4 separate regions of the Homo sapiens genome follow, and all the other regions are linked to region 4. The links are contacts of gene promoters, found by promoter capture Hi-C in human tissues and cell types (Jung and others, 2019). All regions are on one chromosome and are shown on one strand. Each heading gives the region's core, a stretch centred on a gene start or on the middle of the fragment in contact. The rest is flanking DNA. Distances are from core to core; before and after follow the strand shown.

Region 1 (7,150 bases), core at 1,399-3,898, 710 kb after region 4:
AAACATGGAAAACAGGAGCAGCAGAGGCACTAGGTCCTGTCTCCATGTGGCAAGAAGGCATGTTCATCTGTGACACCTGCAGGCATTGAAGGAAGAGGGAAGAAGCTCCATCCAGTTAATTAAGAGATGTATTTCCAGGCAGGGTGTGGTGGATCATGCCTGTAATCCCAGCACTTTGGGAGGCTGAGGCAGGCAGATCACTTGAGGCCAGGAGTTCAAGACCAGCCTGGCCAATATGGTGAAACCCTGTCTCTACTAAAAATCCAAAAAATTAGCCAGGCATGGTGGCATGCACTTGTAATCCCACTTGCTCGAGAGGCTGAGGCAGGAGAATCGCATGAACCCAGGAGGCAGAGGTTGCAGCAAGCTGAGATAGCACCACTGCACTCCAGCCCTGGGTGACAGAGCGAGACTCTGTCTCAAAATAAATAAATAAGTAAATAAATAAAAGAGATGCATTTCCAGTGAAATTGGACTTTTTATGCTGAAAAATTATTTATCAAAGGTTATGAAATATTTGATCAACTGTATACTAATAATTGCAATAATAATCCAGAAAAGCTATTTTTCTTTCTTTCTTTTTTTTTTTGAGATGGAGTCTCACTCTGTCCCCCAGGCTAGAGTGCAGTGGCTTGATCTTGGCTCACTGCAACCTCTGTCACCAGGGTTCAAGTGATTCTTCTGCCTCAGCCTCCTGAGTAGCTGGGATTACAGGCTCCTGCCACCGTGCCCAGCTAATTTTTGTATTTTTAGTAGAGACGGGGTTTCACCATTTGGCCAGGCTGGTCTTGAACTACTGACCTCGTGATCCACCCACCTCGGCCTCCCAAAGTGCTGGGATTACAAGCATGAGCCACCGCACCCAACCAGATTTTTTTCTTTTTAACATTCAGAGACTATGATCATATAAAAAGAAATATATCAATTTATATACTTTTTTGTTGCAAAGATATACGATAGATGATCAATAAATCTACTGCATGAAGATGAACTTTTGTGGGAATAAGAATATGAATTCAAGGAGGAAAGGAAATGGTGTAAAGTTTCAGAACCCATAAAGAACAGTTTCTGGAGTTTCTTTTTAAAAAAATTTTTAAAAAAATATTTCTGAGACAGGGTCTTGCTCTGTTGCCCAGGCTGGAGTGCAGTGGCACAATGTTGGCTCACTATACCTTGACCTCCAGGGCTCAAGAGATCCTCCTACCTCAGCTTCCCAAGTAGCTAGAATTGCAGGCACACACCACCACACCTGGCTAATTCTGTTCATTTTTTTGTAGAGACAAGGTCGTCTCACTATGTTGTCCAGGATGGTTTTGAACTCTTGGACTCAAACAATCCTCTCGCCTCGGCCTCCCAAAGTGCTGGGATTACAGGAGTGAGCCGCCATGTCTGGCCGAGTTTCTGTAATTTCAAAGTAGACAATGATGGGTATCAAATTGCTTTGATAGGAGATTCCATTGAATGCATTTATAAGAGCGATAAAGCAAGTTTATTTTAAAATGTGAATATTTACAACTTACTGTAAAGTATTTCTTTTGCAACTATTTAAACGTGTCAGGAAATATTTTAGATGTTAATTAAAACATGAAGAAATAAATGGATTTATAAAATTCTCTTGGGGGTAAACAAGCAGAAATTAAGACATGAAATGTTTAAAGTTTACCTCCATCCAATCTCCCTGCCCTACTTCTCAGTCTAAACCTTGGTGTTCACATTTCTTCACTGATGTAGAGCAATGAGGAAGTACTTGCCTTATGTTGACATCAACACAAGCCTACGTGATGAACTGCACACTCACGACAGAGTCTCACTTTGTTGCCCAGGCTGGAGTGCAGTGGTGCACTCCCGGCTCACTGCAACCTCTGCCTCCCGGGTTCGAGTGATTCTCCTGCCTCAGCCTCCCGAGTACCTGGGATTATAGGTGTGTGCCACCATGCCCCGCTAATTTTTGTACTTTTAGTAGAGATGGGGTTTCATCATGTTGGCCAGGCTGATCTCAAACTCCTGGCCTCAAGTGATTCACCCACCTCAGCCTCCCAAATTGCTGGGATTACAAGCGTGAGCCGCCAAGCCCAGTCTGCACACTCACTTTGAAAAAGGATTTGTATAGCTTGTAATAAGACGTTACTATACTTGTATTCTGGGCAGATAAAATAATGGCAGAGAGCAGACTTCCTTTAGAAAAAGGAGGAAATAATGTATCAGAAACCAAGGATGAATCACTTACTGTTAAGTCTGCCCTAATTAAAAATAAATAAGTAAAATAGTGACCTTTTTAAAGCTGGGTGTGGTGGTGCACACCTATAGTCCCAGCTACTCCAGATGCTGAGGCGGAAGGATCGCTTGAGATAGAAGTTTGAGGCCAGTCTGGACAACAGAGTGAAACCCTGTCTCTTAAAAAAAAAAAAATTACTATCTTAACCATTTTACACATACAATTCAGTAGTATTACCTATTTTCAGAACTTTTTCATCTTGAAAAACTGAAGCTTTATAGCCACTGAACAACTCTCCATTTTCCCCTTCCTTGAGCCGCCAGCAATCATCGGTCTAATTTCTGTCTCTAGAAATTAGATTGCTTTAGAAACCTCATGTAAGTAGAATCACATGGTATTTATATTTTTGTTGCTGGCCTATTTCACATAGCATACATAATGTCCTCAAGCTTCACCTATGTTGTAGCACATGACAGAATTTCCTTTTTTTTTTTTTTTTTTTTTTTTGAGACGGAGTCTCACTTTGTCGCCCAGGCTGGAGTGCAGTGGTGCGATCTCGGCTCACTGCAAGCTCCGCCTCCCGGGTTCACGCCATTCTCCTGCCTCAGCCTCCCGAGTAGCTGGGACTACAGGCACCCTCCACCACGCCCGGCTAATTTTTTGTATTTTTAGTAGAGACGGGGTTTCACCGTGTTAGCCAGGATGGTCTCGATCTCCTGACCTCGTGATCTGCCCGCCTCGGCCTCCCAAAGTCCTGGGATTACAGGCGTGAGCCACCACGCCCGGCCTCAGAATTTCCTTCTTTTTAAAGGCTGAATAATATTCCGTGGCATGTGAACACCACATTTTATCTGCTAATCTATCAAAGCAAATATTTTGCAAATAATTTTTCCAATTCCAAAGGTTGTCTTTTCCATTGATTATTTCCTTTTATATGCAGAAGTTTTTAAGTTTGATGTAGTCCCATTTGTCTACTTTTGTTTTTGTTGTCTGTGCTTTTGGTGTCATAGCCAATAAATCATTGCCAAGTCCAATATCATGAAGATTTCCCCTATGTTTTTGAGGGGAAAAATCTCAAACCGTTTTTCCTCTGCTCTCATGCCACAACAATAAACACAGAAGACTTCTGTGACCAAATGCGTAGTGATTTCTCCCCATTAACAAGAAGGCAATCAATTCTGCAGCAGACACTGGTTGGGTATCCTCCTATTTAATTCTGACACTGTCTACCTGGAGATAGCATCAGATCCTGATACAACACCTAAACAAAATTTATTTAGGCAGTTAGTGAGGATAAAAGAGTCCTCAGTAAGGTTTGCCTTTTAATAAAAAGAAGCCCCAAATCATTTCTTTTCTAACAAAAAGAGCCTGAAAACTCAAGCTGCAAACATAGATAAGCAAACTGGAAGCTTGCATAGGCGAATGCCAGCAGCTGTGCCAATAGGAAAGGGATACTTGGAAGTCAGGTATATTCAATATTGAAGTTCCCTTTTCCCTTTTCTTTGTTGCCACGTGTGCAGTAAAAAAGCAGGCAACAAGGCCTGGGCTAGGTAGAGGTGCCATTTGCATAATAACAGATGAGGGTGGGATGGCCAGCCTCTTCCTGTGCTATGTAAATGGAACACCTGGTCCAACCAATCCTCTGTGCCCTACGTAAATAAGACACCGCTTCCTCAAGCTCATCTATAAAAGCAACCGCATCTCGCTGTAAACCCGGAAACCTGTTCGGGACTCCTTCCTCTGCACAGGGAAGGTCTCTTCTTTCTTTTGCCTGCTAAACTTCCGCTCTTGAACCCACTCCTTTTGTGTCCCCATCCTCGATTTCCTTGGCGTGGGGCAACAAACCACACGTATTACCCCAGACAACCATGCTGCTTCAATCTCACAGGTTGAGAGCTCATTCCCACAAGACTGCCCCCTTATTTCCGATGCCAATTGCAAGCCCCAGGTTTTACCTGTTATGACTGAATGACTATAAATTGAGGGTCCCATGGCCCCCTCCTTGTGTTCAACTGATTTGCTAGATTGCCTAACAGAACTAGAGGAAACACTAACTTATGTTTACCGGTTTATTATGAAGGCTATTACAAAGGATACAGATGAAGAGATACATAGGATAAGGTATGTGAGAAGGACTGCAGAGATTCTATGCCCTTCCCAGCAGCCTCTGCATGTTCAGCTATCAGGAAGCTCTCTACTAAAAATAGAAAAATTAGTTGGGCGTGGTGGCAGGCGCCTGTAATCCCAGCTATTCAGCAGGCTGAGGCAGGAGAATTGCTTGAACCTGGGAGGTGAAAGTTGGAGTGAGCCGAGATCGCCCCACCGCACTCCAGCCTGGGCGACAAGAGCAAAACTCTGTCTCAAAAAAAAAAAAAAAAAAAAAAAAAAAGGAAGTAGTGACACGAAACACTGTCTCCACACTCCACCCTTATAACCTCCAGCTGGCACCCTGAATGGTCTGGCCTCTCCCTGGGGGCGGATAGGGCAGGAGACACTAAAGTATTAATTATCTTTTTTGATCATGGCTGTAACTGTTCTGCGCCATCTTCAACAGGTGAGACTAAGGAGGGAATCACAGCTAGTCATCTCAGCCAGGCCAGTAGGGGGCGCAGTGCAGTGATCATTCCCTGGGGCCAAGGCTGTCTCCTTGCAGGTTCATCTCAGCTCTGCAGCAATGCCTACTTCTTTCCATCCGCTCCGAGGCTGTTACTAAGTATGTGGAGCTCCTTTTCAACAACTCGCTTACTACAAAGTCCTGCTCATTAAAAGGCGAAGGTGGTAGTGGTAGAGGACTAGATGGGCTAAGTATTTGCTCAACTGCTCTATCTTGCTTTGTAACTACCAAACCATTTCTGGGTGAGATCATGGGGACACCAGATTCTTCACATCCTTTCCTCATTTGCTCAAGACGAGATAATCACAAACAGAACTTTAAGAAACCACCTGTATAAACATACTTGGCGTATCTTCTGGGAATGGAATTATTGAATAGTAACCGATTGTCAGCCTGAACAGGGTGACTTGTTGCCCTCCAGTGGTAAATTCAATCAGTGTTTGTACCGTCAACGTCCCCGCTCAATCACCGTTAAACACTTAGGCAACCAAGTGTCAGCCACAAAGTTAAAAAACAGTCCTTGTTTTCATGGAGCTTGCCAAATAAATATAAGCAAATGGTATAAAATCCCTTCCCTAGGGAGCATGCTAGACACACCCGCAGGTACAGACACAGATGGGGCATGATGACTTCTCCACGTGTATGCAGTGGAGTTCTTTTAGGGAGATTTCAGAGTGGATGATGTACTTTTATACTACAACATTTAGAATAATCTCTCTAAGTACAATTCCAGAATATTAAAAGTATTATAAAATTTGGGAATAGACAACAGAGTCAAGTACACAAAAAGCCTATTATATATTTAAGGACTATGTTTAGAAAAAAGGGTCCTTTTACTGGAAAGATAGGAAAATAGGTTTTTCTTCTTAACTTTGATGTATCCAGAAAATCTGGGAGGGAGGCTCAAGGGTGGTGAGTCACTGTGAGACGTAATGTTTAATTTAATCCAGCTATTGAGTGATAAAATTTTTCAACTTCCTCCCTTTTCTCAAGACCTTAAAAAAAAAAAAAAACAACAGAACATCTTCTCTGCCAACATTTTTTTTCTTTTGAGATGGAGTCTCGCTCTGTCGCCCAGCCTGGAGTGCAGTGGTGCGATCTTAGCTCACTGTAACCTCCGCCTCCCGGGTTCAATCGATTCTCCTGCCTCAGCCTCCCCAGTAGCTGGGATTACAGGCACATGCCACCATGCTTGGCTAATTTTTGTATTTTTAGTAGAGACGGGGTTTCACCATGTTGGCCAGGCTGGAACTGCCAACATTTTCTTCATCCTAATCATTAATCACTTCTTCACCCACAAAATGTCCTTTGCTAGAACATGAGTTCCAAGTGGAGACAGATCACAGAAAGGGGAGGAAAACTCAGAAATCCTTTGTTATGAGAACTATCGAATTCTCCTCTTGCCTTTGTTCCCCTCAGGTAAAGAAAAAGATTGCTATTTTTCCATCAATATCATACCACAAATATCCACCTATATTTATGTTGCCCTCAAGAGTTGTAATTCTATTATCATCCTACTCAAGAAAAAAGGTAGTGAGAAACAACTGGAAGTTACTGGTATTTTGTTATTACTAAGTACCAGGGCATTTCTTGGGCATTAGGGATGATTTATTTATTATTTGTGTCCTTGTCCACTGTAAAAAAGGGAAGCTTAAAAACACAAGTGTGTGTTCAGGTTCCCAGCCTGAATACAAATTGTATTCAATTTCCGAGTGAAATGTGTCCAGACAGCAGGAGAGATCTACTTATCTGTGAGACTGAAGAGCCTCCTTGGAACGAACTAATCCTGAAAGAAGAACTACTTGTGAAGGGCAAACAGTTTAGTTCAAGAAAGCAAGGCTATGCAATACCACAGCAAACTTCATTCAATGAAGACTGAGCTCCAGCCATGTCTTAAGAGCGGGAAGAAAAAGCAGCAAACAGGCTCTATCTCCACAGGCTCTGGGGACAGTGACGGCTGCAGTGGCTCCTTCAGGATGCTCAACCCTGGGCTCTGGAACACCAAGCACAGGCCTCAGCTCTTCCATGATGAATACCTTTTAAAGGCATCAGCTGCAGCATCTCTGTTGCATACAAATTCACTAAGTACAAAAAAACTCCTAGACTTTTGGGCCCATTGCTTATTACATAAAATTGTTTCCAGCAGTAGGGTTTAAGACAAAACACAAGTGAAATAAAATGTACAAGTTTGTTCCATAGAAACACTGAAAACACGGTTATGTCCTTCTACAATTCAGTAAAACAAACACTGCCACAAACACCCTCAGGTTCACAGTTTAGATTTCATTCATTCAATAATTATTTTCTAAGTACTTTCATTA
Region 2 (6,966 bases), core at 219-2,718, 550 kb before region 4:
ATCAGGACAGAGCAGAGTGAGTAGACTGGATGGGAAAGATGGCTTTCATTTTGACCTGTTGTGTTTGATGTGTTCTTGGGAAATTAGCCTGTGTTTCTGACCTAGGTAAAGCCCCTCAGCCTGAAGTCGCAGTCCAGGGGTTAGAGCGAGACAGTCTGGGAGGAAGCAGCTCTCTTTGGTGGAGTTTTGCCCACCATTCCCCGCTCATCCACCCTATAGGTCAAGGTCTCCATGGTGGAAGGTGATGACCTCCACTCACTGGGATGAGTGAAAAATATTAGCGCTTCTGTTTATATTAGGTTTTTCTTTTTTCTAAAAAAGAAAATTATTCCTCTGCTGCTTTATTATGTGGGTTGACCCTGGTGCTTGCTCTTGCTGCAGAAGCCAGACAGGCATCAGAGGGGTGCACTAGGCCCCCTGATGGGCACCTGGGGTGCCAGGTGGTGTGGGCTGACATGGCTCCACACACCTTCTCTGCTTCCAGAATTGTGCTGTTATTGCAGATCCCAAATTTTCATTAAGAGAATGTGTGGTTTATATTATCTAGTCTTTAACTGAGCCAGTCCTCACACAAACAGGCAAGTGTCTGGCAAGGATGCCTGCTAAGAAATGGTATGAAGCTATTTCTTTTTTTTTTTTTTTTCAGGATTCTTTTTACTTATTTATTTATTTATTATTATCATTATTATACGCTGTGCACGTGTACCCTAGAACTTAAGGTATGAAGCTATTTCTAAGGACATAAGCAGAGATGAATGGCAAGAAAGGAACAGAGCTGGTACATCTCCCCTCTGCGCATGAGCAACTGCCAGCCAGGTTACAAGGTTCGAGCCATGGTGATGATTTAACATAAATAAATAAACCAGCTTGACCTGGCCCTTCAAGCACAAGATGCCAGTTAACAATGTGTGAGAAAGTAATCACTGTCTGCCAGAAACTTGTGCTACAGTAAGAATATCTTGAAAACAGGAGTTTGGAAAGGTTTCCATCATTAAGTGATTTTATTGCCAAAAAACGATGTGTGACATCTATAAAAGTTCTCATATCTTGCACTTTAAACTAGGAAACACAATTTTATCAGCTGTCTAAAAGCTTCCAAGGGGTTCTGTGAGTTTTAAAACCCATTTGTGAAACATAAAAACGAACAACTTCCAATTAATATGAAAAAACAACTCATTGATGTCAAGGAGCATGGAAATTTACTCGGTGATAATAATAATCCCTTCTAAATTTGGTGGATGGGATTGAAAAATGGATATTGTGATTTAGTAAGCACAGCACTCCATGCTGCTCATGGTTCTCCACGATTTCCCAAAAGGATGAGGCATGTTTAATAACATTACACTGACTAAGACATTGTTAATAAGTCATTGAGAATAACAGGAGATTTTTAAGAAAACAAAATATTTTTGATTCTGAATAAATAAGATATATTTTTCATCGTTTCTCAGCCTTTTGGTTAAGTTCAAGTATAAAATACATTTTTCATTAATTCATTTAATAAATATTTATTGAAGTCCCCCTCTAGGCCCAGGACATTCTAGGCGGGGCAGAGTGGTAGTGAAAATAAACAGCTTCCCTTCATCAAGATTCCACTCTAGATGAAATGAGGATGACAGCTCAAGACATATTTATATTTGTGTTTATTTCTCTATTCTTATACTTTAAAAATTCCTATTTCTCTTTATGTTTTATAACGTGCATTACATATATTTTGGATAGAGTGGAGGAGACAGATAAGTCATAAATACTTGTGTTTTTATTGCACATCATATAATATACACAATTTAATAATACATTGTAACATATCTTATCTGCCTATATTGCTATATTCATGTATGATGTATGAACATATATTCATATACCATCTAGTACATATTAGATACTATAGATTATAATTATGTTGCAGCATGTGTCATATTATACATAAGACATATAAATATATTTGCTTATATCTACTAACATATGTATATATCGTAATTGCATGTAAACATTAATATATATACATATATTTGCATGTTGTATACATATTTGATACTCATATGACATTGATACTCATATGACATTGGTGTGCATATATAATCCTCCTATATTTTTCTAGTCCATTTGTTCTCCCACATTCCTAGAAGATCACTTCACATTTTCTTCTCTTGCCTTCAACACTCAATGCCACCTTCCTCATCCTCACACTCAGACTCCTCTTTTACTGAGAAGATGGAGATGAACACAAGTGGCTTTCACCAGCCCTGCCCCAATATTTCATCGTCCCATGCACTGATGCCCAGGGTATCCGTGGTACATGCTGCTTTCCTTCAGTGTCGATGGACAGATTTGCTTTGCCACCTGGGACCCGCCTCTCTGTTCATGTACCAGGTGCTCTCTCTTTCCCATAGAGATGGCTGCAGAAATTCTCTCCCCCTCCCAGCCCCGGTCATCAAGCTTTCCTCTCTCCTGGATCATCCCAACCTGCAGACAGGCCTGGGGTGGCTTCTCCCATCTTCAACCAAACGAAACCCTCCCCTCACTCCCACTTCCTCTTCCATGTACTATTTCACTTCTCAGTTCTCCTCACAGCACAACTTCTTGAGAGAGTTGCTTACACTCATTATCTTCCATTTTTCTGCTCCCAATTGGGCTTTTACTTCTAAATAATTCTCCAAAATTTATCTTGCCAAGGTCAAAAAGGACTGCCAAACTTGGAAATCCAAACTCAGTTCCCTGTCCCCACAAAGCTGACCTCTCAGCAGCGCTAGTCACAGAGGGCTCTTCCCAAGCTGACTTTCAGCAGCGCTGGTTCCCTCCTCTGGGAAGCCCTTTCTGTTGTTGGCTTCCAGAATACCCCACCTGCCTGGTGGCTCTTGAGCCTCTCTGACCCCCCTTCTCAGGCACCACTGCTGGCTGGTGTCTGAGTGTCACTGTGCCCCTGGTCCAGACCCCAGACTCTCTTGTCAACAGCTACACTCACTCCCTAGGGGATCTCAGTGGCCCAGTGGCTTTAGATGCCATCTAGAGCCCTGTCCCCCCACTGTCACCTCTAAGGGGTCTCTCAATCCTGAATTGCTCCAAAGTAAGCTAAGGATAGCTGTTCCCCAACCTGTCCCTCTCACAGTCTACCTTATCCAGGTTAGAGGCAGCTTCTTCCTGTAGCCTTGGAGTCAGTCTTGATGCCTCCTTTTCTCTAAATATGGCAGATAGGCCGGGCACGGTGGCTCACGCCTGTAATCCCAGCACTTTGGGAGGCTGAGGCAGATGGATCTCCGGAGGTCAGGAGTTCAAGACCAGCCTGGCCAACATGGCGAAACCCCGTCTCTACTAAAAGTACAAATAAAAAATTAGCTGGGCATGGTGGTGTGCGCCTGCAATTCCAGATACTTGGGAGGCTAAAGCAGAAGAATTGCTTGAATCTGGGAGGCGGAGGTTGTAGTGAGCAGAGATCATGCCACTGCACTCCAGACTGGGCAACAGAGAGAGACTCTGTCTCAGAAAGAAAAAAAAAATAGCGATTCTCCTCAGAGCCCACAGAAGGAACACAGTTCTGCTGACCCCGTTTCCCCATTTTAGACTTATGCCCCCCAGAACCATACATTTGTATTGTTTTAGCCACTAAGCTTATGGTAATTTATTATCGCATCCATAAGGAACTAATACCCTGAGGAAATCCTGTTGTCTGAGCCTTCAAAATATAGAAAGAATCTTACCATTTTCTTACCACTTTGGGTCTTCCATCCAGACCCAAGTTCCCACCTTTTCCCACTGGGATGATGGCAACAGCCTCCTGAGAGGTCTCTGGTTTCCACACTTGTCCCCACACAGTGTTCTGTGCACACAGCTCCCAAGTGAGTCCTCCTAGTAGTTGTAAGAAAGATCAGGTTAGCTACTTTCTGCTCAAGCCTCCACCAGCTCCCTGTCTCAATGAGGATGAAACCCAAACTCCTTCCTGTGACCTACAAAGTTCTATATGATCTGACCCTATCACTTTTCTGAACTTTACACTACTCACCCCCTTGATCACTCACCCAGCCCCAGAAGAAACCTATCACAGCCTTTGCAGTGTTGCTTCAACAAGATGAGCAGCTGCTGCCCCCAGGACTTTGCACTTTCTCCTCTGCCTGGAGTGCTGTTTTCCAGAAGTAGCCATGGCATTCTCCCCCTTCTTCAGTCTTCCCTGGTTGCTAGAGCTGAAATCCTCCCTCCTCCCTATTTCCAGTTCCTTTTCTTTGCTTTATTTTTTTGTTCCTTTGTACTTCACCATGCATATCATCAACATCTACATGTTGTATTTACTTATTTTATGTATTGTCCATCTCTCTCCTTCCCTCCACTACCACCACTAGGAAGTACACTTCATGAAGTCAGGGACCTTGTCTGTTCTGTGGACCGTCATAGCTCCAGCATCTAGATAATGCTCTGCACATAGCATCTGTATTAGTCTGCTTTCACGCTGCTGATAAAGACATACCCAAGACTGGGTAATTTACAAAGGAAAGAGGTTTACTGAGGTTTAATGGACTCACAGGTCTACATGGCTGGGGAGCCATCACAATCATGACGGAAGTTAAAGGAAGAGCAAAGGCACATTTTACATGGCAGCTGGAAAAGAGAGAATGAGAGCCAAGCAAAAGGGCCTTCTCTTTATAAAACCATCAGATCTCATGAGACTTATTCACTACCATGAGAACACTATAGGGGAAACCATCCCCATAATTCAGTTATCTCCTACTGGGTCCCTCCCACAACATGTGGGAATTATGGGAACTACAATTCAAGACGATATTTGGGTGGGGACACAGTCAAACTTTAACAGCATCCCAATGAGTGTAGAAGTCCCCTGAGCCAAAGTCAGGCTGAGTCAGGCCCGGACAAGGCTTGCTTAGTGTTGTCACTTTAGCCCTCCTCTGGGTGAGTATACAAGCATGAAGGCATCATTATTCAACACACCAGGCACTATTCAACATCACTAGCAAGTAAGATATGACTTCTACAGTATAGGGTAGAATTAAGGAAGGAACGCATCACAGCAGTTAAAACCCTGAGGGAGGACACTGGGAGAAGTACCAAGGATGCCCTACCCCAACCCCTTAAAGCAAGTTCATCCACCCCACGGCCTGCAGGCTGCATGCAGCCCAGGGCAGCTTTGAATGTGGCCCAACACAAATTCGTAAACTTTCTTAAAACATAAGGAGATTTTTTTTTGTAATTTTTTTTAGCTCATTGGCTATCATTAGTGTTAGCGTATTTTGTATGTGGCCCAAGACAGTTCTTCCGGTGTAGCCCAGACTAGCCAAAAGATTGGACATCCCTGCCTTAAAGGAAATCTGTCCTGTTGGGATTATGTCAGTGACATCAGGCGGATCTCAGGACAGGCTGGCCCAGCAAACACAGGTGGCTTCCAAGGGAAGCCAGGGAAACCTGTCCATAGGGCAGGGATGGGGTGGGATGAGTTGTTAATGTACCATCTGTCTTGAAATCCAAAGAACTCATAACAAGCAAAACAGTTAACTGGTCCTGGATCCAGATTCTGCCCTGGTATTCACTCCTGAGAAGCTGGCCAGAGGGGAAGATCTATTTACTTATTATTTTGTGTTAAGAGGCTGTGACACAGAAGAGAAGGCGATCTTAAAATGAAAACCTGGGACGAAGAGAATTTGAGGTCCTGTCATTCTGAGCCACTCCTCCATGGCAGGCATTAGCTGGGCATGTGTCTGACCTCTGCGGCACCTCTGAAAGGAAGCTATTTATATCACCTTTTTACACACAGGACCTCAGAGAGGTCAAGTGGCTTCCCTGAGGCCAGAGAGATAATAAAGGACAGAGCTGAATGAAGGCCAGGTCTATCTGGCTTCTGGAGAGTGTGCAATACTCCTGCAGGAGCAGTGCTTTTAGCTTGAAACAAAGGAAGACCTTTTGAACAATGAGCGCTCCCTGGAGATGCTGGGGCTGCTGACTTTCAGAAGTGGAGGCCCATTTGCTTATGTGTCCATCCCCCACCTCTGATGGCCTCAACAGGGCCCAAGAAGACAGCCCGCTTCTAGGCAGCATCAGGGTCCATCTTCTAGACCCTTCCCGAGGCGATATTCTCACCTTAGGCTTCCAGAGTTGCCTTACATCCTTAATTTAAATGATCTCCTGTTTAAACTGGCTTCAGAGGTTGTGGTTACTGGCAACCAGAAGACTCCTAACTCAACATAAAAGTCACATGAGTGCCAGCACGCTTCAAAGAGAACTTAGAGAAAGGTCAAAGTCAGTGAAGTTCCTTTCCACACTTAGACAAAGTCACCAAAATCTACTATTTTCCCTCAAATCAAATTTATAACTATCTTTCTAAATTAAAAAGTTTCATAATACCATCAAAAATAACAGAAAATTTTAAGAATGGGTTTTAAGAATGAACTTCGAGTAGGGAAAAAAAGTTCCTATTGCTAAAATAAAACAAAACAATAATAATAAAATAGCATAACATTTTTATTCATTTCATAGGTGGTAACAAAATAGAGCCTTCCAAATGAATTATTTAAGGGGTTTATTCATTGAAGCAGTCTTTGGAACTGTTCATTCATTGTGAAAGCAAACACTCAGAAAGTCAGCAATTTGCCTTCCACCTTAAATGAATTTTTTAAATGTCTATAATTTCTCAGAATGTGCCGAAATGCCTTTGGTTCATTTAATAAACACTTGGCAAGTGACTACTGAACACAGCGTCCTTTAATTTCCAGAATAAAACAGGATGCAACTAAAAGTATCTAGAGTAAAACTTTCCCACCTGGCAAATGAATAGGCTCATTTATCCACGCATAGGCACGTCTGCATAACTGGGCTGCAATTGATGTAAGAGACAGGTGCTAAGAACAAAAATAACCAAACATGGCTTTCTGAGCGCCTCTTCTCCTTTTATATTGGGTAATTGCAATGGCTGACATGAAGGAAATGTAAGGAGAGGAAATGATTGGGAGGTGGTAGGATATATTA
Region 3 (6,319 bases), core at 1,045-3,544, 590 kb before region 4:
TTTTGCAAATTTGTTCAATCTTCTGAAATTAAATAAAGTTTGTTTTTAAATAAATGCAGGCTCAATGCTGAAAATGCAGAAGACAGAAAATAACAGCTCCTTACAATTTTTCTGTAACCACATTACCGATAGCTAAATACTTTCTTTTAAGAGAGAAAGAGAAAGAGACAGATTGTTCCAGACACTGGATATACAGCAATAAACAAGACTGGGAAGGTCCCTCTTCAAATGGTATAAAGCAAAAAAAAAATAAAAATAAAATAAGTAAAAAAAGAAATGAGATAATTTTGGATAACATTAAGCTTTATGTAGACACATATGCCAACGTGTGCACAGACATGCCCAAACTGAAAACCTTAGCTCTTTTCTTCCAAACCCTACATCCAACCTGCCAGTAAATCCAACTGGCTTCACTTTTTAAAAATATATACCCAAAGCCAGGCATGGTGGTGCACCTGTAGTCCCAGCTACTCGGGAGGCTGAAGCAGGAGAATCACTTGCGCCCAGGAGTTCTAGACCAGCTTGGAAGCAGCATAGTGAGATGCCATCACTAGAAAGTACACAAACACACACACACACACACACACACTCACACACGTAAAATCCAACCTCTTCTCTCTATCTCCATTACCACTGTACCAGTCCAAGTCACCATCACCTCCTGTCACCTAGATTATTGCCACCACCTCCTAACTAGTTCCTGGCCTTCGACAGTCTGCTCTCCACTCCACAGCCAGCTGATCCTCTTTGGAAATCATGAATCAGACCATGCCACTTTTATGCTCAAAATCTTTCAAAGGTTTTCTGTCTCACAGTAAGAAAAAGTCAAGTCTTTATGCATGAAGTATAAGGTCCTATAAAATCAGGCAATCCCAGTCTCTTTCTGGCTTACTAGACTTCTGCAGCCCCTAAAACACCAGCCTGCTTGCCGTCCCTAGAACTTGCTGGGCCTCTGCCTGGGATGCCCCCTATATTCTCATGGCTTACTCCCTTACCTTGCTGCAGTCTCTGATTAATTATTTTCCCCAAGCACTCCATTTTACTTTTATAAAATGGCTAGAGTGCAGTGGTGTGATCTCGGCTCACTGAAGCCTCCAGCTCCCAGGTTCAAGTGATCCTCCTGCCTCAGCCTCCCGAGTATCTGGGACTACAGGCGCATGGCACCACATCCAGCTAATTTTTGTATTTTTTTTAGTAGTGATGGGGTTTCACCATGTTGGCCAGGATGGACTCGATCTCTTGACCTCGTGATCCGCCTGCTTTGGCCTCCCAAAGTACTTGGATTACAGGCATGAGCCACCATGCCCGCCCCAAGCATTCCATTTTAAAACACAACCCCTACTCTCTGGCATCCTTCTCTGCCTTATTTTCCCCCATAGCAGTTATCTTCATCTGACACATAATATATTCTAGTTGTTATCTGTCTGCCCTACCTCACCCCACTAGGATGGTGATTCTGTGAAAGCAGGGGTTTTTGCTTGTCATTGCCTAGGATAGACCAGGCACATAGTAGAGCTCCATAAATATTTCCTGAATGAGTGAATACACACGTGCCTTCAAATACATATGCACCAACCTGAACTAGTTTTGGAAAATACTTTTCTCAGTTAGTTTTATACTTTGGTGGGCAAGCTAATGTCACAAGACACACTATTCACAGAAATTCTTTTTTTTTTTTTTGAGACGGAGTCTCACTCTTTTGCCCAGGCCAGACGGCAGTGGTGCTATCTCGGCTCACTGCAAGCTCCGTCTCCTGGGTTCATGCCATTCTCCTGCCTCAGCCTCCCGAGTAGCTGGGACTACAGGTGCCCTCCACCACGCCCGGCTAATTTTTTGTATTTTTAGTAGAGACAGGGTTTCACCGTGTTAGCCAGGATGGTCTCGATCTCCTGACCTCGTGATCCACCCGCCTCGGCCTCCCAAAGTGCTGGGATTACAGGCATGAGCCACTTACAGAAATTCTTATCTACTGACTTTGCCAAAAGAATACTTTAGCAAATTCTTTTAATTATTAGCAAGGGCTCAGTCAGTTCATATAAAGGAACACAAAGGAAATACCAAATAAATAGACGTGTGAAGGTCGCTATGAAGTCACTTAGAGACGTGCACGTTGTTAACCTGGCCTCCAACACTAGATTAGCTATTTAAATACCAGGGAGGGTTAAACAGAGGTGACAGATTCAGAGGTGGATGACAAGAAATGAAAGCGTTGATATTTAAGTAACTTTTAATAATTATACAGTCCTTCTGCCATATATTATAAGGAATCATGAAGCAGGTAAACTCGGATTACAAGAAAACCTTAAGGGCTTATAAACAATGTAAGGGTTTGTTGCTTTTGTTGCTTTTCCAGAAGGAATGGCCTCATCTCCATAGAAATCTGCTCTTTCTCTAGCAGGTATCTGCTCCTTTCAGAAGAGCCCGTGGGATTATAATGTATCTGTAACATTTAGATCACAGGATACACTTAGAGCTGAGTAAAGTTTCTCCTTGCCTGGAATTCTCCTCAAACAGTTGCACTCACTTACCTACAAGTGGCCCCAAACCCGCTTCTTAATCTGGCTGGCTTTCTTCAGTTACTTGGTAAGGTACATTTCAGTTAAAAGAAGAGTGTCACTGCAGAATAGGTTGTACTAGGAGGCAGGGATTTCAAAGCCTGCTAGTCAGTAGATCCTGAAGCACGTACACATCATCTTGCAGGTCAGTAAGAACATTACATGGAACTGACACACATGACAATCATGGTGAAATGGGTGGTTCTTGGATTAAATGGTCTGATTTAAATCCCTGCCCTATCTCGTAATAACTATATGATCTTGATTCAGTTTTTCATCTGGAACAGTGAGGGTTATAAAAGGAACCTTGTCATTGTCAGTTGTTTCACTGATACATATTTGTACATTATTTATGCAGTACATGTGATATTTTATTACATGCGTAGAATGTGTAATGATCAAGTCAGGGTATTTAAGGTATCCATTACCTAAAGTATTTATCATTTCTATGTGTTGGGACCAGTTCAGGTCCTCTCTCTTTGTTATTTTGAAATAGACAATATATTGTTGTTAACTTAACTATAGTCACCCTACTGTGCTACCACACATTAAAGCTTATTCCTTCTATCTAACTGTATGTTTGTACCCATTAGCCTACTTCTCTTCATCGTCCTACTCACCCACACTCCCTTTGCAGCCTCTGGTATCTATCATTCTACTCTCTACCTCCATGAGACCAACCATTTTAGCTCCCACATAGGAGTGAGAACATACAACATTTTGACCTTAACATAATGACCTTCATAGTGACCTTCAGTTCCATTTGTGTTGCTGCAAATGACATAATTTCATTCTTTTTATAGCCACATAATATTCCATTGTGTGTATATATATATACCACACTTGCCTTATCCATTCCTCTGTTGATGGACACAGGTTGATTCCATATCTTGGCTACTGTAAATAGTGCCACCATAAACATGGGGGTGCAGGCATCCCTTTTTTATACTGATTTCTTTTCCTTTGGATAAATAACCATTTAGTGAGATTGCTGGATCATATAGTAGTTCTATTATTAGTTTTTTGGTAATCTCCATTCTGTTTTCCATAGTGGCTGTACTAATTTACACTCTCACCAACAGTGCCCTTTTCACCACATCTTTATCAGCATCTGATTTTTTTGTCTTTTAGTAATAGCCATTTTAACTGGAGTAAGATGGTATCTCATTGTCATTTTGATATGCATTTTCCTGAGGATTAATGACGTTGAGCATTTTTTCATATACCTGTTGGTCATTTGTATGTCTTCTTTTGAGAAATGTCTATTCATGTCCTTTGCCCACTTTTTTTATTGTATTATTTGGTTTTTTACTGTTGAGTTTTTTGAGTTTCCTGTATATTCTGGATATTAGTCCCTTATCAAATGATAGTTTATATTTTCTCTGATTTGACACAATGTCTTTTCACTCTGTTGATTATTCCCCTTGCTGTACAGAAACGTTTTAGTTTAATATAGCCCATTTGTCTTTGGTTTTGTTGTTTGTGCTTTTGAGTTCTTAGCCAGTTTAAATCCAATGTTTCTTAGCTAATTTTCTGTCTAGATGATCTGTATAATGCTGATACTGGGGTGTTGAAGTCTGCAACTATTACTGTACTGAAGTCTATCTCTGCCTTTAGATCTCATAATATTTGCTTTATATATGTGGGTTTTCTGGTGTTAATACATATATGTTTATAATTGTTATATCCTCTTGCTGAATTTATCCCTTTATCATTATATAACAACCTTCTTCATCTCTTTTTGCGTTTTTGACGTAAAGTCTGTTTCATCTGATATGAGTATAGCTACTGCTGCTTGATTTTGGTTTCTGTTTGCATGGAATATCTTTTTCCATCACATTACTTTCAGTCTATTTGTGTTTTTACAGGTGAGATGAGTTTCTTGTAGGTGACATATAGTTGGCTTGTGTTTGTTTTTTATTTATTCAGCCAGTCTATATCTTTTAAGTGGAAAGTTAATCCACTTACATTTAATATTATTATTGATATGTGAAGTCTTATTCCTGTCATTTTATTAATTGATTTCTGGTTGTCTTGTATATACTTTGTTCCTTTATTTATCTCTTATTATTCATCATTGTGGTTTGGTGGTGTTCTGTAGTGGTAACATTTGAGTCCTTTTTCTTCCCACTTGTGTGTCTGCTCTACCAGTGGGTTCTATACTTTCATGTGTTTTCATGATGGTAGATATTATCTTTTCATTTCCAGATATAGGGCTCCCTGAAGCATTTCTTGTAGGACCAGTCTAGTGGTGATGAATTCCCTCAGCTTTTGCTTGTCTGGGAAAGACTTTATTTCTCCTTCATTTAAGAAGGATAACTTTGCTGGGAATAGTATCCTTAGCTGGCAAATTGGGTAGTTTGGTTGTTATCAGCACTTGGAATATAGCGTCTCATTCTCTCCTGGCCCGTAAGGTTTCTGCTGACAAATACACTGTTAGTCTAAGGGGAATTCCCTTATAAGTAACTTTATACATTTTTCTTGATGGTCTTAGAATTCTGTCTTTGTCTTTGCCTTTTGACAGTTTGATGATAATGTGCCATGAAGACCTTTTTGAATTGTATCTATTTGGGAATCTCTGAGCTTTCTGTATCTGGATGTCTAATTCTGTTGAATTTTTTAGCTATAATTTCATTAAATAAATTTTCTGTCCCTTTCATTGTCTCATTGCATTCTGGGACACCAAAAATTTTAATATTTCATAACTTTATGGTGTCCCATATGTCACATAGGCTTTGTTTATTCTCTTATTCTTTTTCTTTATTTTTGTCTGACTGGGTTATTTCAAAACACCTGTTTTCAAGTTCTAAAATTCTTTCTGTTTGATATAGTCTATTCTTGAACTTTTGATTGTATTTTATATTTCATTCAGTAAATTCTTCAGTTCAAGAATTTCTGTTTGGTTCTTTTTTATGATATCTATCTCTTTGGCAAATTTCTTACTCATACCCTGAATTGTTTTTTTTCATTTCCTTGCATTGTTTTTCTGTGTTCTCCTGTAGCTTACTGAGCTTCTTTAATATCATTATTTTGAACTCTTCCCCTGGGATTTCATATATTTCTTTTTCATTGGAATCTGTTGCTGGAGTATTAATGTCTTCCTCTGGAGTTACCATATTTTCTTGTTTTTTCATGTTTCTTATGTCCTTACATTGATATCTGCACATCTGGTGTAGTGGTTGCTTCTTTCAATTTTTTGAACTTGTTATAATAGGAGAGGATTTTTTTGCTAAAGATATATCTGTGGTATTGGTTGAGTAGCACACAGCACTTTGGCTTTGATTCTTGGTGTGTGCAGTAGTATACTCTCCATATGATTTCTTCAGTTGTAAACAGAATCTGTGCCATCTTTGATTTCCTCAGTGGCTTAGACTGTGGTGTTAGTAAAGCCTATGGTGAAGTGTTTTGCTGGGGACAGGAACATCAAATGAGCCAGTCCTTGGGTACCAGTGCATTGATGACAGCAGTGGACTGAGCATGCTTGTCCTTGAGCCTCAGGGCAGGATACACTAGCACTGGTGTTAGCAGGTCCAAGTGAACCAGTTCTTGAGCCTCTAGGAGGCTTGTTTGGGTGGCAGAAGTGGCAGTGGTAGGCCAGGTAGGTGGACAGATCCTCAGGTTCTTGAGCAGTGGGCATGGTGTGGGCAGTGGCAGTAGCAGTGGTGGGACAATCATCTGGCTCTCACATGGTCCGTGCTGGTGTTGATAGTGGCTGGGACAGGCTGGGCAAGCCAGTCCCCAGGCTTGCAGGTGGCATGTGCGAG
Region 4 (6,388 bases), core at 1,870-4,369:
CACACTTTTACCTACTTTTCACGCTAAAACAGAAAATAGAAATAACTTTTTTTATATACACACTTTTTTAAAAATCAAGCTATATGGTACTTGAAAATAAATTTCTTCTTAGAAACACTAGTTAACTACATTCCTAAATGCCCAAACTTGGAAGTACAAAAGTAGATACTCATAATCAACTTCTACTTGCAAACTGAGAAAAACATAGTATTGGAATTTCTGGGTGACTAATTGTACAACTGTATAGTTCAATATGACTGACTCTACATAATACACTCTGAAATCTTTCAATGGGCATTCCCGCAACTGACTTTGCTACAATCCAGATACTGTGACAGCCAACACAGGGCCTGTATTTTAAATTTTAAAACTTTGCAAGCTCAATTTAAAGGAGTCAAGCTAGGGTCAAAAAAAAAGTAATGAGGACAGGGAGGAGTTAATATTCTCCAAACAGACTAAGAATGCTCTCCAGGCTGAGTACTGCGGAGAAAAAACAGGAGAGCAGCTCTGGGAGTCCAAAGGCTGGAAAACTATAGTTTCTTAACTTCCATATCCGCTGTTAAAGTTGCCTAACACAGCATTTTCCTCAATTCCAAGATGCACAAATGATTTGGGGAGGAAAGGAAAATACATCATATTAAAGGGGTAAAGAGGTATACACTTAAGAATCTAAAAACGTGGAAGATACGCAACTTTGAACTGAGGAGCTTCAATACCCTTCTTGCAACAGAAGCACAAAGTGCCTCGGGTTAGAACTGTGGTTTCTCCAAGGCCTGCTACCGGTGTGCAAGCTCACAGTCGCATTTTTCATTTCATAAGCCTAGAGTTAACTTTTTAAATTCGTTTCCCCCCAAACATTCATCCTATTTTAGAATCCTATTTTCCTAAACTGAAAGCAAGCAAACTGGTCTAAAACCTGGAAGTCTTTGTGTTTGTGCCACATTTACAAGCTACAGATAGGTTTTTGAACAAATAACTGAGAAGCTATTGTTTAATATTACTTTATTTAGGTCAAGGATCTCCTCAACATAACTTCGCCATTGTACATAAGTCACCACTGTTACAACCTTCTATCTACTGCCATGGGGCCTCTTTCTCCAAGAGGCAGTTCACCTTTATTATCTACTTTCTAGGGCTTTTTTTCTTTTTTTTGCCCCCCTTCCCTCATGCGAAGATTTCAAGGAAGGTTATTTATTATTTTAACCAAATTACGCTCTGTTGATCTGAACTAGAGTGAAAAATGGGTGCTCCACATCCAAAGGCTATGTTATTACAGGACATAAAAAAAAATGGTAAAAGAAATACACTTAATACTTGCAGCCATGTTAACCAAGATACTTGGCAACTATGGCAAAAACAAAGGGGAGGGCAAGTCTTCATTTCAAAGGTTTCAAAGGGTTACAGAATGAGCAAATATTATTGCCTACAGGTTGCCTCTTTCAGTGTCACCTGCTACCTCCCCAAGACAAGGAAAGTAAACAAAAGGAATTTCAGTAACGAATTTCCCAGGTTCCACATTCCCTAAAACACGTAAGTTGAAGGGAGGGCTTAAACAACTTCCACCTAATTAAAAATCTTCCCTTTTAATAATGCTTTGTTTTCACTGCTCCTATCCTTTCGGAGTTACATATGCTGGTAAGCAAGGAGGAGGGCCAAAAGGGATATTCAAGAGGCTGAACAGATACTATCTTAACTTCTTCCAAATCCATGAAGAACAAGCTGGGGGACACAATGGCATGCCTGGCCAGGCTGTCTGGACCTCATAGAGAGGCACTGGCGTCCCTTCCCAGTTAACAATATGCAAAGCACACTTCCTAACAATCTCCCGACGCTCCGTGATTGTTAGTTTATCAATTGAGCTTAAGTTCAACCAAACTTGGTAATACTCCTCGCAATTGACCTGGAGCCTAATTTCAAACGTAAAAATGCGTCCACTCCTCTAGCGCTGTAGGAAGCTGTGCTTACAAAGTTCGGACGTGGTACAATGATTTTTGTTTTATTACACCTGGTGGAGAAAAAAAAACATAACACCAAACTACGTTACCGAATTCCGAATTCACGGGAGAATGGGGATTTCGGCGACGACTTGAGGAGTACATGACCCAGGACAGAGGACGAAGTGAGCTGCCTCCGGGCCGCGGGCCCCTGTCCTTGGCCACGCCGTCACCTGAAAGGGGCCGCTGGTTCGCTTAGCATCCCTCCAAACCTGAAATCCCCTACCTCAAGATCAATCAAAAGCAGGGGGAAGAAAGTGTCTTCTGGAGGCGCAAGAAAGGCCACAACTTGGATGAATGAAACTGGGCTAAGGGCACCCGGAGCGGGATTTTCGCTGAAGTCAGAAAAAGAAAAGTCAAAAGATTTTTTTTTAACATGAGAGCGATTGCAAGAGACTGGAATACAGACAACGGCACAAACAAGCTTTGGAGGAACGCTTTATTGGGCGCGGACGTTCCGGGCGGCCGGCGGGCGCTAGAGCGGAGGCGGTCGGCGGCAGCCGGCGGGCGGCGGAGCGGGACGGACCAGGCGGCGGCGGCGGGGCCGGCGACGAGGCAGCTTCACGACTGGCGGGGACGGGCCGGAGTCGGGCTGGGCGCCCGCGCGTGTCCTCCCGCGGACCTTCCACTGGACTCCCGCGGGCCGGCGCCGGGATCGGGGTCGGGGCCCGCTCGGTCCGCCCCGCCCCCCGCCCGGCGGGCCGCTTGCGAGGCACACCCTCCCGGACCGCGCACACGCGCAGGCACACCCCCGCCTCCCGCGCGCACGCGGCCGGGCCCGGCCGGCCCACGCGCGCCCCCTTCCCGCGGACGCCCGCCGCCCGCCCGCCGCCCCGGCCTCCTCCGAGGAGTGCAGGAAGGCCCGGGGTCCCGCGGCCAGGGCGCGCGGGGGACGGCGGCCTAGCGGCAGCGGGGGCGCCCGCGCGGGAAGACCGGCTCTGAGGGAAGGTCACTTACCCGCTGCATGGCTTTCAGGATTAAAGCCAGCTCGTAGCGGGGCATGCCTGGAGGATCGGCGAGTGCGGCTCGGAAGCCAGCCGGTTCCCGGGACGCGAAGGGGCGGGACGGCGGGGACAGTGGGGACCTAGAAACTGCTGCGCCGGACGGCTCCCAGGCGGCGAAAGCACGGTCCGAGAGCGCGAGCCCGGGCTTAAAGGCGCTGGCAGCTGCGCAGACGCCGCGCCACGCCCCCTCGGCGCGCCCCGCCCCGCCCGCGCGCCTTGCCGCCGCCCCGCCCCCTCTCCGCCCGCGGGCGGCCGCCACGCCCCCTCCGCAGCCCCGCACCCGCCGCACCGCCCCCGCCCCGACCCCAGCCCAGCCCGCCGGCCGCGGCTAGGGGCGGTGCTGCAGACGCGGCCCAGAGCGGCTCGCGGCGGCCGCACGCCCCCTCGCGACCCTGCCTGCCCCTACCCCGCCTCCTGCCATGCCTGCTACCTAGCTCTCGAACCGGCTGGAACTTTCCATGCCTTCCTTCTCCTCCCGGGCGGCGGGCGAGTGAGTGCCCGCCAGTGCGCGTGCGCTGCGGTGCGGTCTCGTCCGTGCGCGTGCCCCTCGCCCGCGACTCCCCGGAGCTAGGGACCTTCGCGGCGCAAGGCGGGGTCGCGGCCGGCCCGGGGGCTGTGCGGCCAACGGCTGCTCGCAGGGGTTCTGGAACATTCCCGCCCGGGGTCGGTAGGGGGGTGCAGCTCTCGCCCCCAGCCACAACTCTCAGGTCTGACGCGGCTGACCAGGCCCCCTACCCGGCGAGGAGCGCGCTGGCACAGGCCGTGGGCCGCGGCGCGCGGGCTCGGGTCTGACTCAGTCCCTTGGCACTGCGTGACCTTGGGCCTGCTGCCTGTGCCGAAAGTGGGGACCCGAGTGAGTTACTGCACGTTAACCTCCGAGGACGGTGCCTGGTACACACAGGCGCGATACGGGCATTTGTGGTGTGCCCCTGACCTGCCCCCACGTGTTTCAGCGGAGGGCAGGCGAACACCTTAACTCTATCTCATTTCTTTAAATGTTTCCTCCGCTTTCACTTAAAGGCTAGGCTGAGTGCCTGGGAGACCCTTTAGCAACTGTCTAAGGTGGGCAGGGGCATACGTTCTGCCCTTGCCATCCCTTTACACCCACATGGTTCTCCGCCCTCCAGCCAGGGGCTCTGCAAGTGCAGTTTTCTCCAGCGCCCTTCCTTAGAGGTTGAGTACCCTGCAGCTGAGGCCTCTGCCCCTTGTTTGCCCCATTAAAAGCTCTGTACGTGGAGTGTTTGTCAACTTAAAGTGCTTTAACGTTAATAGGTAAAGTTTAGTGAACACTTACTCTGCATCAGGCCCCATGCCAAGGCTGGTGGATGTGTCTCCTAAAATTCTCACAACAGCCCTGAGGTGACAAAGATTCTTTGCTTGGCCAAACTTTAGTCAGGCTTCTGAATCTCATGCTAGGCCCATCTGTGCACTTCCTTGTAAAATCCAGTTCTAGCACAGAACCCCCATCCCCTCATAGCAGATCAGGTTCCTCATCTTCCTCTATCCCCCAGTCATGTCTTTTCACCCTGGCCTGAGTTCTACAAGAATCCTTTAGATCGGTTGAGCCAGAATCCCTCTTCCCCCGATGGTTACTCTTAGTGATTTTACATGGCCATAAATTTCTACTTGCCGACGCTGCATTCAGAATTGGAGCCCACTCTCTCTCCCCGGGTTTCCCTGATCCCTGTACCCATCGCGTTGGTCCTGAATAAAGTCTTTCTTACCATGCTTTAGTAAGCATCACTGAGTAATTTTTTTAAACAGAGGCAAGCACTGTTAACCCCATATTAGGGATTAGGAAATGTAGGCACAAAAAGTTTTGTAACTAGTCCAAGGTCATACAGTAATAGAAACAAAGTACTTTTAGCCGCCCCTCTACCCTTCTGACCTCCGGTTCTCCTACCACACAGATGAAGATGCTGATTGTTATTCAGTGGATTAACCGTGTAGTCCACGTAAGCCAAGATTAGAGTACCTTTGTCACCTTACCCAGAGGTTACCATTTCACATCCCATGCGTCTATTTGTGACATATGGGAGGTAGGAGATGGAGATGAACCCAAGTTTTTCTGAGATAGCTGGATTTTAACATTTTCTATTTTTAGACTTGTCTACAACCCATACCTGTGTGAAGCCACACAGGTAATCCAAATTGCCTGGCTAAGTGTCAATTAACTTCATGTTTGGTTTAAATAAGTAGCGTACTATAAATAACAGAAGGAAACAAGGAATTTCTGGACCTTCAGAAGTGAGTTACAGGCTGGGTGCAGTGGCCCACGCCCGTAATCCCAATACTTTGGGAGGCTGAGGCGGGTGGATCACCTAAGGTCAGGAGTTTGAGACCAGCCTGGGCAACATCGTGAAATCCTGTCTCTAATAAAAATACAAAAATCAGCTGGGTGCGGTGGCACTTGCCTGTAGTCCCGGCTACTCGGGAGGCTGAGGCAGAAGAATCGCTTGAACCCAGGAGGCGGAGGTTGCAGTGAGCCGAAATCGCGCCACTGCACTCCAGCCTGGACGACAGAGCGAGACTCCATTAAAAAAAAAAAAGTCAGTTACAGATTTTCTAGAATGGTCCCACCCCGACTGTCCCCTGTCTTGTCAATTACATGACCCAGTTTAGTAATGAGAAAATAAAGACCCCGTAGTAATATGCCAAGTCAAACACTGAGGCGGCGCAATGAGCTGACTTCAACTCAGAGCATTTCCTCTTGGAAGCTCTTTAGTTTTCCCTTAATGCCCAGGGATGAGTGAAGACCTGGCATCTTCTCTACTCCTTCTAACTTGACAAGTGGTATAAGGAAATTAACCTGACTGCGTAATACCTCACCACAGAGTCAGCATCCCCAAGCCCTCCCAGTCTGGTAGCCACCCACAGACTCATTCCATTTCTTAAAAGCAGAGAGAGGGCAGCTACTGTGATTTTCCCCCTTCAACCTTTTTTTAACAAGCACAGAAGCGGCCGGGTACGGTGGCTCACGCCTATGATCCCAGCACTTTGGGAGGCCAAGGCGGGCGGATCACCTGAGGTCGGGAGTTTGAGACCAGCCTGACCAACATGGAGAAACCCCGTCTTTACTAAAAATACAAAATTAGCCGGGCATGATGGCACGTGCCTGTAATCCCAGCTACTTGGGAGGCTGAGACAGGAGAATCGCTTGAACCTGGGAGGCAGAGGTTGCAGTGAGCCAAGATCGTGCCATTGCACTGCAGCCTGGGTAACAAGAGCAAAACTACATCTCAAAAAACTAAATAAAAAATAAAAAAGCACAGAAGCAGAATGCTTGTGGCTTCATTTAAAAAAAAAAAGATTTTTTTTAAATCACGAGGAATGCTGTTGCAAATTTAGTGTCTTCCTACTATAACTACAAACTTAAATTCACCAAAACAA

Evidence for each region. The method cuts DNA at HindIII sites, captures the fragments that hold promoters and counts their contacts. A contact is called where the count stands out against the background at its distance.
Region 1: a fragment that was not itself captured here is called in contact with the fragment with the promoter of MRPS6 in region 4 in 2 of the 25 tissues and cell types used here (aorta and liver).
Region 2: a contact is called between a fragment that was not itself captured here and the fragment with the promoter of MRPS6 in region 4, in 1 of the 25 tissues and cell types used here (heart left ventricle).
Region 3: a fragment that was not itself captured here is called in contact with the fragment with the promoter of MRPS6 in region 4 in 2 of the 25 tissues and cell types used here (IMR-90 fibroblasts and lymphoblastoid cells).

Annotation. Positions count from the first base shown.
Region 1 is chr21:33,359,089-33,366,238 of GRCh38, reverse strand. IFNAR1 (interferon alpha and beta receptor subunit 1) reads right to left here. Exons shown (of 11, transcript NM_000629.3): 11 at 6,375-7,150. Among named protein-coding and RNA genes, the nearest start is that of IFNAR1, 38 kb to the right of the region's middle. RefSeq lists a silencer at 4,722-5,016. The HindIII fragment of the contact is 4,809 bases long and covers 244-5,052 here.
Region 2 is chr21:34,619,251-34,626,216 of GRCh38, reverse strand. No RefSeq gene overlaps it. Among named protein-coding and RNA genes, the nearest start is that of RCAN1, 7.6 kb to the right of the region's middle. The HindIII fragment of the contact is 3,113 bases long and covers 1-3,024 here.
Region 3 is chr21:34,660,242-34,666,560 of GRCh38, reverse strand. No RefSeq gene overlaps it. Among named protein-coding and RNA genes, the nearest start is that of CLIC6, 5.6 kb to the left of the region's middle. The HindIII fragment of the contact is 6,731 bases long and covers 1-5,659 here.
Region 4 is chr21:34,070,309-34,076,696 of GRCh38, reverse strand. MRPS6 (mitochondrial ribosomal protein S6) reads right to left here and starts at 3,119. Exons shown (of 3, transcript NM_032476.4): 1 at 2,952-3,119. The coding sequence starts at 2,996. SLC5A3 (solute carrier family 5 member 3) reads right to left here and starts at 3,119. Exons shown (of 2, transcript NM_006933.7): 1 at 2,952-3,119. RefSeq lists silencers at 2,462-2,861, 3,152-3,671 and an enhancer at 2,258-3,208. The HindIII fragment of the contact is 15,607 bases long and covers 1-6,388 here.